Regions from separate parts of the Homo sapiens genome. Here region 2 is linked to region 1. Evidence: promoter capture Hi-C in 16 types of primary human blood cells and fetal thymus (Javierre and others, 2016). All regions are on one chromosome and are shown on one strand. Each heading gives the region's core, a stretch centred on a gene start or on the middle of the fragment in contact. The rest is flanking DNA. Distances are from core to core; before and after follow the strand shown. Region 1 holds the start of USP49 (ubiquitin specific peptidase 49). Region 2 overlaps GUCA1ANB-GUCA1A (GUCA1ANB-GUCA1A readthrough).

What was found. Contacts are between HindIII fragments. The CHiCAGO score rates a contact against its expected background, and 5 or more counts as called.
Region 2: a contact is called between a fragment that was not itself captured here and the fragment with the promoter of USP49 in region 1, in 2 of 17 cell types (total CD8 T cells and total CD4 T cells). The highest score is 5.5, in total CD8 T cells.

Annotation. Positions count from the first base shown.
Region 1 is chr6:41,890,730-41,897,885 of GRCh38, reverse strand. It overlaps USP49 (ubiquitin specific peptidase 49), which reads left to right and starts at 2,511. Exons shown (of 8, transcript NM_001286554.2): 1 at 2,511-2,562; 2 at 6,011-6,092. RefSeq lists enhancers at 2,114-2,303, 3,238-3,752 and silencers at 2,353-2,645, 2,434-2,673. The HindIII fragment of the contact is 15,191 bases long and covers 1-4,781 here.
Region 2 is chr6:42,163,171-42,170,342 of GRCh38, reverse strand. All of the region lies in intron 1 of GUCA1ANB-GUCA1A (GUCA1ANB-GUCA1A readthrough), which reads right to left. It overlaps CIMIP3 (ciliary microtubule inner protein 3), which reads right to left. Exons shown (of 2, transcript NM_001384994.1): 2 at 6,925-7,172. The coding sequence ends at 7,094. Among named protein-coding and RNA genes, the nearest start is that of GUCA1A, 6.6 kb to the left of the region's middle. RefSeq lists an enhancer at 3,637-4,604. The HindIII fragment of the contact is 8,730 bases long and covers 1-7,172 here.

The DNA of each region.
Region 1 (7,156 bases), core at 1,262-3,761:
AAATTGCAAGAGTGCTTTTCCTCAAGACAAATGTTGTACTTAAAAGTGCTTGATGCATACATACATGCATTTAATCACATAAACGTGTACTTAAATAAAACAATTTTTATTGTCTTCATCAAAGACCTCTTAAATGAAACAGGTGGTTTTTTTTTTTTTTTTTTTTGAGACAGTGTCGCACTCTGTTGCCTAGGCTGGAGTGCAGTGGTGCGATCTCGGCTCACTGAAACCTCTGCCTCCCAGGTTCAAGTGATTCTCCTGCCTCAGCTTCCCGAGTAGCTGGGATTACAGGTGCGTGCCACCACGCCCAGCTAATTTCTGTATTTTTAGTAGAGAGAGGGGTTTCACCATGTTGGCCAGGCTGGTCTCGAATTCCTGACCTCAAGTGATCCACCTGCCTTGGCCTCCCAAAGTGTTGGGATTACAGGTGTGAGCCACTGCACCCATCCGGCCTGAAACAGGTGTTTTTTTACTGTAGCAGTGAAGAATACCTTGACCTCTAGCACAACTTGGTGCAGTTGCCTTGATTTGTGCTAAGGCAGCAGTTTTACCCATTGCTACTTTTGTATCATTGTGCAAATATCATCACAGTGACAATGCAGATATGTCTCAGTATTATTAGGAAAATCGTTTTGATCTCAGGCACCCCACTATCCCCCCAGCCCAAAGGGTCTCAGAGATCCCTAGGCCTTTCCAGGCGACACTTTTTTTTTTTTTTTTTTTTTTTTGAGATGGAGTCTCACTCCGTTGCCAGGCTGGAGTGCTGTGGCACGATCTCAGCTCACTGCAACCTCCAACTCCCTGGTTCAAGCAATTCTCCTGCCTCAGCCTCCTGAGTAGCTGGGATTACAGGCACACGCCACCACGTCCGGATAATTTTTGTATTTTTAGTAGAGACGGAGTTTCACCATGTTGGCCAGGCTGGTCTTGATCTCCTGACCTCATGATCCACCTGCCTTGGCCTCCCAAAGTGCTGGGATTACAGGCGTGAGCCACCGTGCCCGGCCTCCAGGCCACATTTTTGAGAACACTGATCTAATACATGCTCACATCACTGAGAAACTTTTCCTCCTGTATTGCTATTCTGGGAGCATCCCTTCCATTGGAAGTTTTAAGTGGCTCCCAAATTCTTCACTCAGCAAAAGCACCTTGTTATGGAACTAACATTGAATAAGTAACAATCTTTCTTCTCCAAGAATTTTCTTGGGGATTGTTGAGTAAGGGAATAAGACATATAATTAGAGTTATAATGTTAAGAATTCCTTAAAAAGAATTATGTTAACTGTGATGGACGACAAAGGGAGAGCTAAATTCTGAATCTAACTCTGAGGCCTTGAACCTCATGATAAATCCCGACCAAACCAAATTGAAACACTCCACTTCCTCTCCTTCTATCAAACCTCTTTTAAAAGTGCAAGTTGTTAATAAATTGCCTACACAGCGCTTGGTCCAGGCATTGTAGTTTCCCCCTTCCTATTGTGTGTGGTGTTCTTTTTTTTTTTTTTGTGCTTACCTAGTTCTCCTGTTTACAGGTGTGTAACTTGAGCCACTACTATAGCTAATGTCTGTTTCTTTTACTTGTCCTTATATTTAAATGTAAGTCTTTATCTGCCTTAGCTATGTGTTGGGTGTTGAAATTGTTGATCTTATTTTGGGAGACTCCCATCCCCTCCCCCCACTACCACCCCGCAAGTAGTTTCAAGACAGTGCACCTAGGAGACTGCTTAACCTAAGCCTTTTGTAGCTTAGGTGCTGTTCTGTTTCCCAATGGACCACTACCAAGTCAGTCTGGTTTATTTCCCAAGCCTTACAATCTGCTGAACTTCTTCAGTTCCGGCAGCGATCCTCTAACTTGTGGGGGATTTCCATAAAACAGCTGAATCTCTCTTGGGTCATCTGTGGCAAAAGCCAGACACGTGCTCACCCGCCTGGGAGCCAATAGTAACTTTTGCAAACGCTGCCTCCGGAAACCCCACGGTTTGAGGGCTGCTGCTTTAGGAACAACACAGAAATAACGTCTTTTAACAGAATAAAACAAAACATACGGACGGGATAGTGAGAAAGCCTTTGTCCTTCGCAGTGGGGAGAGGTGTTAAAGGTGAACCGAAAAGAGTATGGGAAACTCATGTAAAATACCTTTACAGTTCCCCGGGAAGAAGGGGGCGGAGATGGGCTCGGGAGCGTCTCTGGCCCTTTAAGGAGGAGGGACAGACATAAGAGTCTGTACCTTTAAGAGTCTCTTTGTCTGGAAACCTTCTTATTTACCCTCCTGTGCTTCAACCAAACTTCGACCAGCTATTCACAACGTCCCCCTACGCCGCCGCCCCTTACGCCAGGCTCAAAGCGGCCGCGCGTTTGTGGCTGACCCTAAACTTTGCGCCTGCGGCGCGAACCCTCGGAACGGGTGCCGGTGCCGGGGTCGCGGCCCAGCGCTGCGCCGTTGGCGCAATGCAGGGCCTGAGGGGCGGGGCTCCAGCGGGCGGGCCAATAGACGGGCAGGGGGCGGGGCCGTGTTCGGTTGTCTCGCGCCCTGGTGACAGCTCGCGCGTGCTGATGATGGCGGTAAATAGAGGGGGCCGGGGGAGGGGACGGAGGAGGTGGGGAGGCAGCAAAGTGGGTAGCTCCAGGGGGTAGGGGGAACGGGGGCCGGGGAGGCCGCGACGGCCAGGGAGCCCATTCTAAGACTCGGAGGCGGGGATAGGAGTCTCCGGCTCACTAGCCCTCCCCTTTAAAGAAGCAAAATCCTCACACACCGGGTGAGGGGCGACAAAGGCAGCGCGCGCCTCGCGGGCGGGAGGAGCGGCGGCAGGGGGCGGGACCGCGGCGCCGGCGGGCTGGGGGCGCCCGGGGCGGGGGCGGCGGGAGGCGAGAGCCGGGAGTCGGGGCGCGCGGGCGCCTTATTTTGGCGGGGTGGGCGACGGCTGGGTTGGGGCAAAAGCGTTGAAGGGAGAGGGAAAGGAAGGCTTGGAGGCGATGAGGGGAACCGGGTTGAGAATGAGATGAGGAGGATTAAGGGGAGAAAGGGTTAGAAGCCAGGGAGAGGAGGAGTGAGAAAAAGCCAGCCAAGGAGATAGGAAGGAGGCAAAAGCCAGGGTGGGCGTTAAGGAAGCCGGGCAGGGAATGAGGTTAGGGCTGGGGAAAGGGATCCTGGGGTTAGGTGTAAGAGCAGGGGTTTGAAGGGGAAATCTTCGTAGCGGGTGGTGTTGGGGTGAGGGGTACCGGGGTAAGTGTTGGAAGTGGAAGACAAGGAGGGGCAGAGCTGGGGTAATAGTTGGGAGTAGGAAAGAGAGAGTGATTAAGAGCCAGACGTGACGAGGGTGTGAACTAGTGCGGAGCGAGATGAGCTGAAGGACTGGGACCAACGGTGTGGTGGGAACTGCTGGCGAGGTTCTGAGAAAGGAATGGGTTAGTGGGTGGGCGATGGATGTAAATTCTGTAAAGTGAGGGAGGGCAAATGAGACCTGGACTGGAACCAGGTGGAGTCAGGAATAAGAGTGTGGTGGAAGGGCGAAAGGAAACAGATAAGAGATGGGTGTCTGTAGGACGATTCTGGGACCAGAAGAGCTGAAAGGAGACTAGAGTTAGGGTGTAAGAAGTGATGGCCATCTGGGACAAGGATAACTGGGTAATTACGTTAATTGAAGAGGTTCAGCAAGATCCAAGGTGAAAACAGTGAGGTAAAGAGACAGGGCTAAAAGCAAATGGTGAGAGGAGCAGGAAGAGATGGGCCCCAGAATTTAAAGGATGAGATGGGGAGTAAGGGAAGAGAGGGGGCTAAGAGAAGCTGGGGGAGTCCTGATGGATGTAGAACTGGGGTAGACTGCAGGGGGGTGGGAATCGAATGTGCGTGTTATGGGGAGTTGCTCCAGAAGGTCTGCAAGGGTCAGGGCAGAAATGCTGTAGTGAAAGATCAAGTGTAAGAGAGCCTTTGGTGCAGAAGACGAGGAACCATGGTGAGTGAAAGGGGACCTAGAGACAGGGGTAAAGACTAAAAAGTAAGGGCAGAGGTGGGGGGTGCAGGAAAGGAATTCTTTGTTGAGGAGAGAACTGTGTGTTGAAACTGTGAATCCTTTTGTCCCTAAAAGTAGGAAATTCCAGAAACCTCTTTCTCTCAAGAAATCTTGAATCTGCTTCCACCCTTCATTGCTTTTGATTTGACTTTCCTGTCCACTTTGAAGAAATGAGACTCATTTTGATTTGATTTTTTTCTTGTATGGATGATAAAGTATAAACTCTGGGTGTTGAAAACCTCTGCATTTCACTAGTGTTGTGATAATTCGGGGAAAGGGTGTGCTTATTTAGGGTGTACTCGTGTGATGTGATAGTTTTAGTGTTGTAGGAGTGTTGCACCTGACAAGTGCTGGGCTGTGTTTTATGGACAGCATTTTCATTTTCAATGGAGAACGCACTGTTGTTGGGATAGAGAAAGATGAGAATCTGTTTCTTTTGATTAATCAACCAGATTTCTGCTTATTGTTTTCAGTTGCTGGAGAATGTTAAGAAATCATTTCAGAGAAAGGCAGATAACCAACCAAGGAAGTTTACTGGGGGAGAGATTAAATCAGAGCTGAGGGCTTTGAGTTCCTGAGCTGCCTTTAGCTTTGTGCGGGACGTTTCATGCTGTAGTTGGTAACTCACCCATTTAACAAAATGGCATAAAGAAAGGGAGAATTGTAGAGTAGTGGAGGATTTTAGAGTAGCAGACTTATTTTTTAGGGCAAATAAATTTATGAGTAATTTTGATGGAAAAACATCTCTGTAAGATAATACTGCAGCAAGCTTGGTCTTTGGACAGCTCCACTGCCTTTCGTGTTTTATGGTTATGAATAAAGAAGGCCAGATTAATACTAATTTTCTAGAAGCTTTTGATTTTTAAGACACCTTTAGAAATGAAAAGGAAGATAAGAAATTTGGGGCAAAATTTGGTTATTCTTACTTAGAATTTTGTTTTAATGATTTTTTTCAGAAGCTTTTACATTTAGCTAAGAATATGAATGAATATTTGTTTTGCATTTGATGGTGCCAAAGGATAGCATATGATTTACTTAGGGAAAAATTCAAACAATTGTTGAGAATCTTCTTTGGGGTTATTTCATTGTGTACACTCAGATGCACAAAGATACTTTTTTTTTCAAAGTTGGGTAAATTTTGGATTGACACTTTTGCTGGTGTTTGTATAAATAACAAAGATTAGGTTTATGACTTTTGTAGTAGTTAACAAAGATTAGATTTTGATTTGTGGATTTGAGCAACAATGGTTAATGTATAATTTAGAAAACTCTTTCTGCATTCAGCTACTGTGTTAGTGGCATAGTATTTAGTTTATGGTTTGTTTCCTGGATTGTATTAAGCAAGTGTTCAAGGTTACTAGATGTATTTAGCAATTTAACAGAGGATCTTGGTAAAAATTACTATTTTTGCCACTACATTTTAAAAGGATTAGTTTGATAATGTTGACTTTCAAGATGAAGAATAACTTTGATATGAGGCACTTGTTTCAGTGAGATGTGTGTGCATATTCTTTTTATAGATGTGTTTGGGCTGGCGTTAGTAGTAGGACGTACTCTGTATGGTATTGCCATGTTTATAATGTAATTGTAATTGTTTAATGCTCAATATCTTTATATAAGTGATTATAGACTTATTTGATATTGGTAAAGAAGGAAATATAAACTGTAAGATCAGCCAAGGGAAAGAGTGAGTCCTGCCTTTTGTTTCTGTATGCAACGGCCTTAGTGTGCTAAACCACTGAGTCTCATTGTCAATGGTTATTTCTCAGTCGCTATTTCTAAAACTGAAAATGGATTTTTAAAAATTGAGATAATACTATTTATCAATAAGGACTCCAATGATAAATTTAAGCTTTATTTTCATTTGTTCATCAAGTACAGTTCTACCCAATTTAACTTTATTTTGGTTATAATCTTATTTGCTAAGCAAAAGCTTTTAAGTTTATATTTTTAGATTTATTAGGCTGTACATAATTAAATGTTTTCCTGGTTAACCGTAGATTCTTTGGATGGGAAGAGACCTTGAAAGGACCTCTAGTTTATCCTGCAACTCCAGTCAATATCCCACTTAAATCATTCCAGGTAGATAAAAATTTATCCTATTTTTTAAAACAAATCTTCAGCAGTAATGTGGTAACCTCTGTAGATAATCTTTGCAAGCATTTAATAATTTCTCTATCAGGAGAGTCTGCCTTCTCTCCAACCAGCACATGTTTAATGCTATATATGTGTTTGTTTCCTCTTGCCCCATTCTCAATTTTTGAGTAAAAAATACCTGTGTACTTTTGTATTTATAAGACCTTAGTTCTTCATAAACTTAATAATAGTAGCCAACACACATATAATGCTTTTGTGCCAGATACTTCTGTAAGCACTGCAAATTGTAACTTGTTTACTCCTCAATGGCAATCCTGTGAGGTAGGTACTATTACTATTCTCATTTTACAGGTGATGAAATAGAGGGTCCTTGAGATTAAATGATTTGCCCAAGGTTATACTCAGACATTCCTACAACTATTTATTTGGTAATTATCTTATATTACAAATAATACTATGTTTTGTAACCCAGTGATACATTTAATCTTTATTTTAGTTCAAAAGCTAGAATTCTACCAAGTGGTGGGATGGGATTCCAGCCTTTGCATTTTGCCAGCAGAGTCTGTGCTCTGGTTTTGCCTCTGGCTTGCCTGTTGTGAAGTTCTCCCTCACCAAGTTCTTCTTCAGATTCAACACTTAACAAGTCTTGTTTGCCAATCTTTAAAAATTATCCCTGTAGTCCTGTTACTAACCTTTTATCCAGTTCCTTTCTAGATGAGGAACCTGGGGTAAACACCGTAACGATTATGTATAATGTAAAGATTACATCAAGGTTGTTGCATGCTTCTATTTTTTCATTCCAAAATTGTATTTACAAAACAAACCCAAACCAGTAAAAAATGCCTTATTGCATTGCAGATTCCCCATCCACCTTTTTAGCTAGAAAACTGCCCTGGACTTGTTATATACTATGACACATTTATAGTTGAAAGATTATTGCTGTTTGAAGAAAAATGGATTTTTTCTGATTTCAGATTTCAGTGCAAATATCCATAAGCAAAATCTGTTTATACCCTCACTAATTTTTTAGTATTTTCTCTTTATGTGTG
Region 2 (7,172 bases), core at 2,928-5,427, 270 kb before region 1:
CTGGGACACTCTTCTTCTCCTGCCCTTGGACTCCAGGACTTGCACCAGTAGCAACCCCTCCCCACTCTCACGTTCTCAGTCCTTCAGCTTCAGACCCAGAGTTACACCATCAGTTTCCTTGGCTCTGAACCCTTTGGGCTTGAACTGAGCCATGCTACTGGCTTCCCTGGTTCTCCATCTTGCAGATGGCATATTGTGGGACTTCTCAGCCTCCATAAACATGTGAGCCAATCCCCCTAATAAATCTTCTCTCATACCTCTATATATAATCCTATTAGCTCTGTCTCTCTGAAGAACTCTGGCTAATGTGTGTGTTATATTAGTTTTCTATGTTGCATAACAAATAACCACAAAGTCAGCAGTTTTAAAACTACACACATTTATTATTATTATTATTATTATTATTATTATTATTATTATTATTATTTTGAGATGGAGTTTCACTCTTGTTGCCCAGGCTAGAGTACAATGATGCGATCTCGGCTCAGCACAACCTCCTGCCTCCCAGGTTCAAGCAATTCTCCTGCCTCAGCCTCCTGAGTAGCTGGGATTACAGGCATGTGCCGCCATGCCCCACTAATTTTGTATTTTTAGTAGAGACAGGGTTTCTCCATGTTGGTCAGGGTGGTCTCAAACTCCCGACCTCAGGTGATCCACCTGCCTCAGCCTCCCAAAGTGCTGCGATTACAGGCATGAGCCACCGTGCCTGGCCACACATTTATTATCTCACAGTTTCTATGGGCCAGGAGTCCAGGCACAGCTTAGCTGGTCCTCTGCCTAGCGTCTCACAAGGCTGCTCTCAGGGTGTCACCTGGGCTGTATTTTCATCTGGAGGCTCAACTGGGGAAGAATCCACTTCCAACTTATTCAGGTTGTTGGCAGAACTCATTTTGTTGTGGCTATGTGACAAGGGAGCTGGCTTTTCACTTGACATTGCCTGGGGGACACACTCAGGTCATAGAGGCTGCCCTCTGTTCCTTGTTACACCAGCTTCCTCACCACGCTGCTTATTTCATCAAGTCAGCGAGAAGAGTCTCTCTGCAATCTGCTAAAGTCTATATAACCTAACATAATCCACAGAGAGACGTCCCATCACCTTTGCCATATTCTATGGGTTAGAATCAAGTCAAGGGCCTCACCCACACTCAAAGGGAGAGAATTTTACAAAGGTAGGAACAACAGGAGGTAGAAATCACTGGGGTCACCTTAGGGTCTATTATGACATTCACTCTTCTACAATAACACGGACATAGCATTCATTTCTTTCCAGAAGTATTATATAGGCAACTCTTCTTGCCAGCCTGCTCTAAGGAACCCAGCAAGCTCACAGAGGGTGGAGACCATTCTGTTATTTGTGTCTCGCCTGCCCCCAGCTCCTGGCACCACACATTCCACATTGTCGTGCGCTAGTTGTTCTGTTTGCCCAGCCCCGACTCATTCTCCCCCTTTCTCCTCCAGCTCTGAGCCCCAAAGACTGACCCTACAGACTGCATCACCCAGACTCTGCTGCCCTCTTGTTTCAGGCTGGGTTCATCTGCTGAGAAGCTGGAGGAAGACTGGAGGGTGGAGAGGGAGAAGAGCTGGGACATTTGTTGTCCTCACTCCTCCCTGCCAGCTCAGGGTTGGGGCAGCGGTTATTTCCTTCCACCTTCAATCACCGCTCCTGCCATAGCTCTCTGGGCTCCTGTAATCATGGCTCCCTCCCTTTGCCCCGCCAGGCATGATAAGGGCTTCCCTCTCGCTACTGTCTGGGTACATCACCATTCCCTTAACTATGCCCAGCTCTCTGTTAATAGTCCCCACATCAACTCTCCTAAATTACCGTTTTGAGAGTAATATTTGACTGACGGGCTTGAGCCCAGTAAAATATTGAGTGCATGCATGCATGCACATATGATTAAAGAAAGAATTCTTGGGGCCGGGCGCGGTGGCTCACGCCTGTAATCCCAGCACTTTGGGAGGCTGAGGAGGGTGGATCATCTGAGGTCGGGGGTTCAAGACGAGCCTGGTCAACATGGTGAAACCCCGTCTCTACTAAATATACAAAAATTAGCCGGGTGTGGTGGCGGGTGCCTGTAATCCCAGCTACTCCAGAGGCTGAGGCAGGAGAATCGTTTGAACCTGGGAGTCGGAGGCTGCAGTGAGCCGAGATCGCGCCATTGTGCTCCAGTCTGGGCAACAAGAGCGAAACTTCGTCAAAGAAAAGAAAATAAAAGAGAAAAGAAAAGAATTCTTAGGCCGGGCAGGGTGGCTCACACCTGTAATCCCAGCACTTTGGGAGGCGGAGGCGGGTGGATCATCTGAGGTCAGGAGTTCGAGACTAGCCTGGCCAACATGGTGAAACCCTGTCTCTACTAAAAATACAAAAATAAGCCGGGCATAGTGGTGCACGCCTGTGGTCCCAGCTACTCTGGAGGCTGAGGCAGGAGAATCACTTGAACCTGGGAAGCAGAGGTTGCAGTGAGACGAGATCGTGCCATTGCACTCCAGCCTGGGTGACAAGAGTGAAGCTCCAAATCAAAAAAAATTCTTGCCAGGTATGGTGGCTCACGCCTGTAATCCCAGCACTTTGGGAGGACGAGATGGGTGGATCACAAGGTCAGGAGATCAAGACCATCCTGGCTAACATGGTGAAACCCCGTCTCTACTAAAAATACAAAAAAAAAAAAAAAAAAAAGTTAGCCAGGCTTGGCGGCGTAGTCCCAGCTACTCAGGAGGCTGAGGCAGGAGGATGACGTGAACCCAGGAGGCGGAGCTTGCAGTGAGCCGAGATCGCACCACTGCACTCCAGCCTGGGCGACAGAGCGAGACTGTCTCAAAAAAAAAGAAAGAAAGAAAGAAAGAATTCTCAAAAAGCTAAAATTGGATGAAACTATGCTTGTTGAATAGGTGCACAAGTCCTGTGGGGTGGGTATTATTATTGCCATGTGAGACAAAAGGGGCTTGGGGCAGAAAATTTAAATCACCTGCTCAGGTTCACGAGCACTTTAGTGGTGGTACCAAAGTTTTCCCACCTCATCATCATGCTTTTCTCCTAAGCCTTCACACCCTGCAGAAGGGCTGGATAGAGCCAGGGGGACCCCACGAGCCCCTCACTCCAGCGCCATCTCCCTCAGTCCTCCCCTTGTGGCCCTCTGCCCAACAATTCCATTGACAGAGAGCTTGCTCCCTTTGAGGGAGGAGGGCCCCCACCCCTTGTCTCCAGCCCAGGGTGGGAATGGAATCCCCTGAGACAGGGATGCCAAGGCAAGGAGGACTGAGATCAACACCAAGGCCCCAAGGAAGCAGTATGCACAAGGTATGCGTTAGGGCACAGAGGGCCAGAGTACAGGTCACACAGCATACACAGGGAGGATTCCTGCCTTCCCTGGCTGCTCTGCCTGCAGGAATCCCTCCTGGGACAGAAGCCAGATCAGAGGAAGAGGCTCCACCTGGCGGAATGGGGCCGAGGGGAGGGAGGATGGGGCAGCTGCAGAGAGGTAGGAAGACAAACCAGGAAGAGACAGGAGGGGCAGTGATCCAGGCCAGACTAATCCCCCCCTAAGGCTGCCTGCTTGCCCCTCTACTCCACAGAAACACAGAAGGACCCTGAGCACAGGTTCAGTTGCCTCCTGGGCCTATCTCACTCAAAACAAGGTGGTACCTTGGCCGGTTTCTTTAAAGGGTTTCTAAGGGCGTCCATGGAGGCTGCATTACCAAGGTGAACCTCAAGAGGGAGCCCATTCTCCAGGGTAGGGGAGGAGGCGTTTGTTGTGGGAGTGAAGACGCCTCATGGGGATCCTGCCCCTCACCCTACACAGGCTATAGGATCTGGAAGGGAAGGGACGGTTCCTGTTAATATCTTTGCATCTTAAGGACACAGCCCACAGGGTCTGTTGGGTGACTGACTGATTGAATGAGCAAGACTTCTAGTTATACATAGACTGAAAACTTCCACTTATCTCTGCTTCTTTTCAAAATCCCACTAAAATATGAATAAATGCATGTTTTAAAGACAAAAGGAGGCCGGGCGCAGTGGCTAACGCCTGTAATCCCAGCGCTTTGTGAGGCCGAGGCGGGCGGATCACCTGAGGTCGGGAGTTCAAGACCAGCCTGTCCAACATGGAGAAACCCCGTCTCTACTAAAAATACAAAAATTAGCCGGGCATGGTGGTACATTCCTGTAATCCCAGCTACCCGGGAGGCTGAGGCAGGAGAATCGCTTGAACCTGGGAGGAGGAGGTTATGGTGAGCCAAGATTGCACCATTGCACTCCAGCCTGGGCAACAAGAGCAAAACTCCGTCTCAAAAAAGGAAAAAGGGGCTGGGCACAGTGGCTCACGCCTGTAATCCCAGCACTTTGGGAGGCCGAGGCAGGTGGATCACCTGAGGTCAGGAGTTCAAGACCAGCCTGACCAACATGGAGAAACCCCGTCTCTACTAAAAATACAAAATTAGCAGGGCATGGCGGCCCATGCCTGTAATCCCAGCTACTCGGGAGGCTGAGGCAGGAGAATCGCTTGAACCCGGGAGGTGGAAGTTGTGGTGAGCTGAGATCCCGCCATTGGACTCCAGACTGGGCAACAAGAGTGAAACTCTTATCTCAAAAAAAGAAAAAAGAAAAGAAAGAAAGAAAAGAAAAGAGGAAAAAAGACAGCAGATACAGGGGTTCTAATAAAATTTTGGAAAACAAGACAGATGGACAAGTGGTAACTGTCTTTCTTATGAGAGTGGAGAAAGTCGAAACCTAAATGCTTTCAAAGAGGAGGAGCCTGCGGAGCTCGGGACAAACCTATTCCTGCTGCAGGAATAGGGAGGCAGAGATACCAGGTGCCCCTGAAGGCTGGGATGCAGCACAGGTGGAGCAGAAAATAGGGCTGGCCAAAGTTTGCATAAGGAACACTTAGCTTCTCCGATGCCCTCCGCAAGGCAGCAGAACAGGCATCTCCCGGCATCAGTCCCCTCCTGACCCTGATTGAAGGTTCTTCTGGAGATTTGGGCCAGAGAGCCGCTAGTCTCTAGGCACAGCCTCAGGAAGAGACATGTGCCATTCTATAAATGGAGCGTTAAAAGAAAGTCTACATATGGACAGTGAGAAAACCACCATGCGCCTTCCCCCACCCCAGCTCATTCCCGTGGCTGGCTCCTTGAACACTGATGACCAAGCAGAAGGAGAGACCTGGTACAGATGCCAGATGGTCTGAGGCCAGCCAAGGCTCATCAGGCATTTGAGGAAAACCTCTAACTCAAAAGAGAGCCTACAGCAAGCCAAGAGGAAAACGCGGATTCTATGCTGTTAGGGTCGCCTCGAGGGGTCTCCACTTCCCTCCACACTGCTTACCATCTTCTCAAAGAAAGGCCCACAGGACAGCCTGGCCTTGTTGTGGGCTGCTTGTCGGGGTCTCTGGACACCTGTCTCTCCTTCCCACACCAACCCCAACCTCTCCTGCACAGGAATTATGCCCCACAGAATACACCACCATACCTACAGAGGGACGAGACTCCTAGGAATGAAACCAGCTGAATTCACCCTGTGGTGTGCTGGTAAATGTTTAATGATGAGCTCTCTGGAAAAAAGAAACTCCAATTTGTAGGCATTTGCTCACTTCTGTGGTGTAAATGCTCCCACCACAGCTGATTCCAAACTGCCAACAGGAAGTCACTGATTGTGGGCCGGGTGCGGTGGCTCACACCTGTAATCCCAGCACTTTGGGAGGCCGAGGTGGGCAGATCACAAGGTCAGGAGATCAAGACCATCCTGGCTAACATGGTGAAACCCCATCTCTACTAAATATACAAAAAAAAAAAAAAAAAATAGCCGGGTGTGGTGGCGGGCACCTGTAGTCCCAGCTACTCAGGAGGCTGAGGCAGGAGAATGGCGTGAACCCGGGAAGCGGAGCTTGCACTGAGCTGAGATCACGCCACTGCACTCCAGCCCGGGCGACAGAGCGAGACTCCGTCTCAAAAAAAAAAAAAAAAGAAATCACTGATTGTGGAGTAGGGAAGACATGGGCACAACCAGCTCTTACAAGTCAGTACAAGCTGGCTCCAGCACACCACTGGGGTTCCCTCTGAATGGCAGTGACTGGGAACTCACTCAGGCCCCTGCTGTGAATCCAGTGCCCTCTGCCTCCATCCCCCTCTTCCATGCCCCATGACCCATGAGCTCAACTAGCCTCAGAGCCAGCTCTTCTAGACCAGAGGAGACGGCAAGGATGGGAAATCCTTCCCCCACCAACAAACTACAAGTCAGAAGCAGCAGCTTTATGTAAAACTGGGTCTGGGAGGGGACCTAGAGTCTGTGTTCATTCCCTGCATTCTTCCTCATTCTGCAGCAGCTGCTCCAACCAGGGTAAGATGACCTTGTAAGAGAGCAGGAGTCATGGCCAGTTGATGGATCTCTTCCTTTTTTTAAATTAATTTTTTTTTTTTGACGGAGTCTTACTCTGTCACCCAGGCTGGAGTGCAATGGCATGATTTCGGCTCACTGCAACCTCTGCCTCCTGGCTTCAAGGGATTCTCATTCCTTAGTCTCCCGAGTAGCTGGGATTATAGGCACCTGCCATCATGCCTGGCTAATTTTTGTAGAGACGGGGTTTCACCATGTTGGCCAGGCTGGTCTTGAACTCCTGACCTCAGGTGATCTGCCCACCTTGGCCTCCTGAAGTGCTGGGATTACAGGTGTGAGCCACCACACCCACCCTCTCTTCCTTGGAGGGGTCCGAGCCTGGACCATCGGGAGGCTGGAGCTAGGATGGGCTTTGCTTGGGACTCAGCTCTGGAGAAGGGTTGAGGTTACTTTTGGGGTTAGGGAACTGAGAATCAAGTCCTTCCAAGTCTTCAGAAACCTCTGGACATAACCTTACTGTATAACATCCCCATGGCCTGTTTACCTACCCACAGCCACCCATTCAGATGCCAGGGAAAGGAAGGACAAACTTTAACTGCTGCTGAGAAGAGAGACCTCCCTTTATCATTGTCAATAGGTGGGCATGGCACAGCTGTCTTAGCCCGAATATAGGTCACTCCTCCTGCAGTGAGCAGCCCTTCCCCTTGGGGACCTGAGGTCACAGGGGTGAGGGTGAAGGGTCGGGGGCTTCCGTTTGGCTCAGGCCTAGGAGCGCCACAAGACCAAGTTGGCAGGAGGCACATCAAAGCGCTTGCGGGTGTGGTCAGTGTCCCGGCGGTACAGG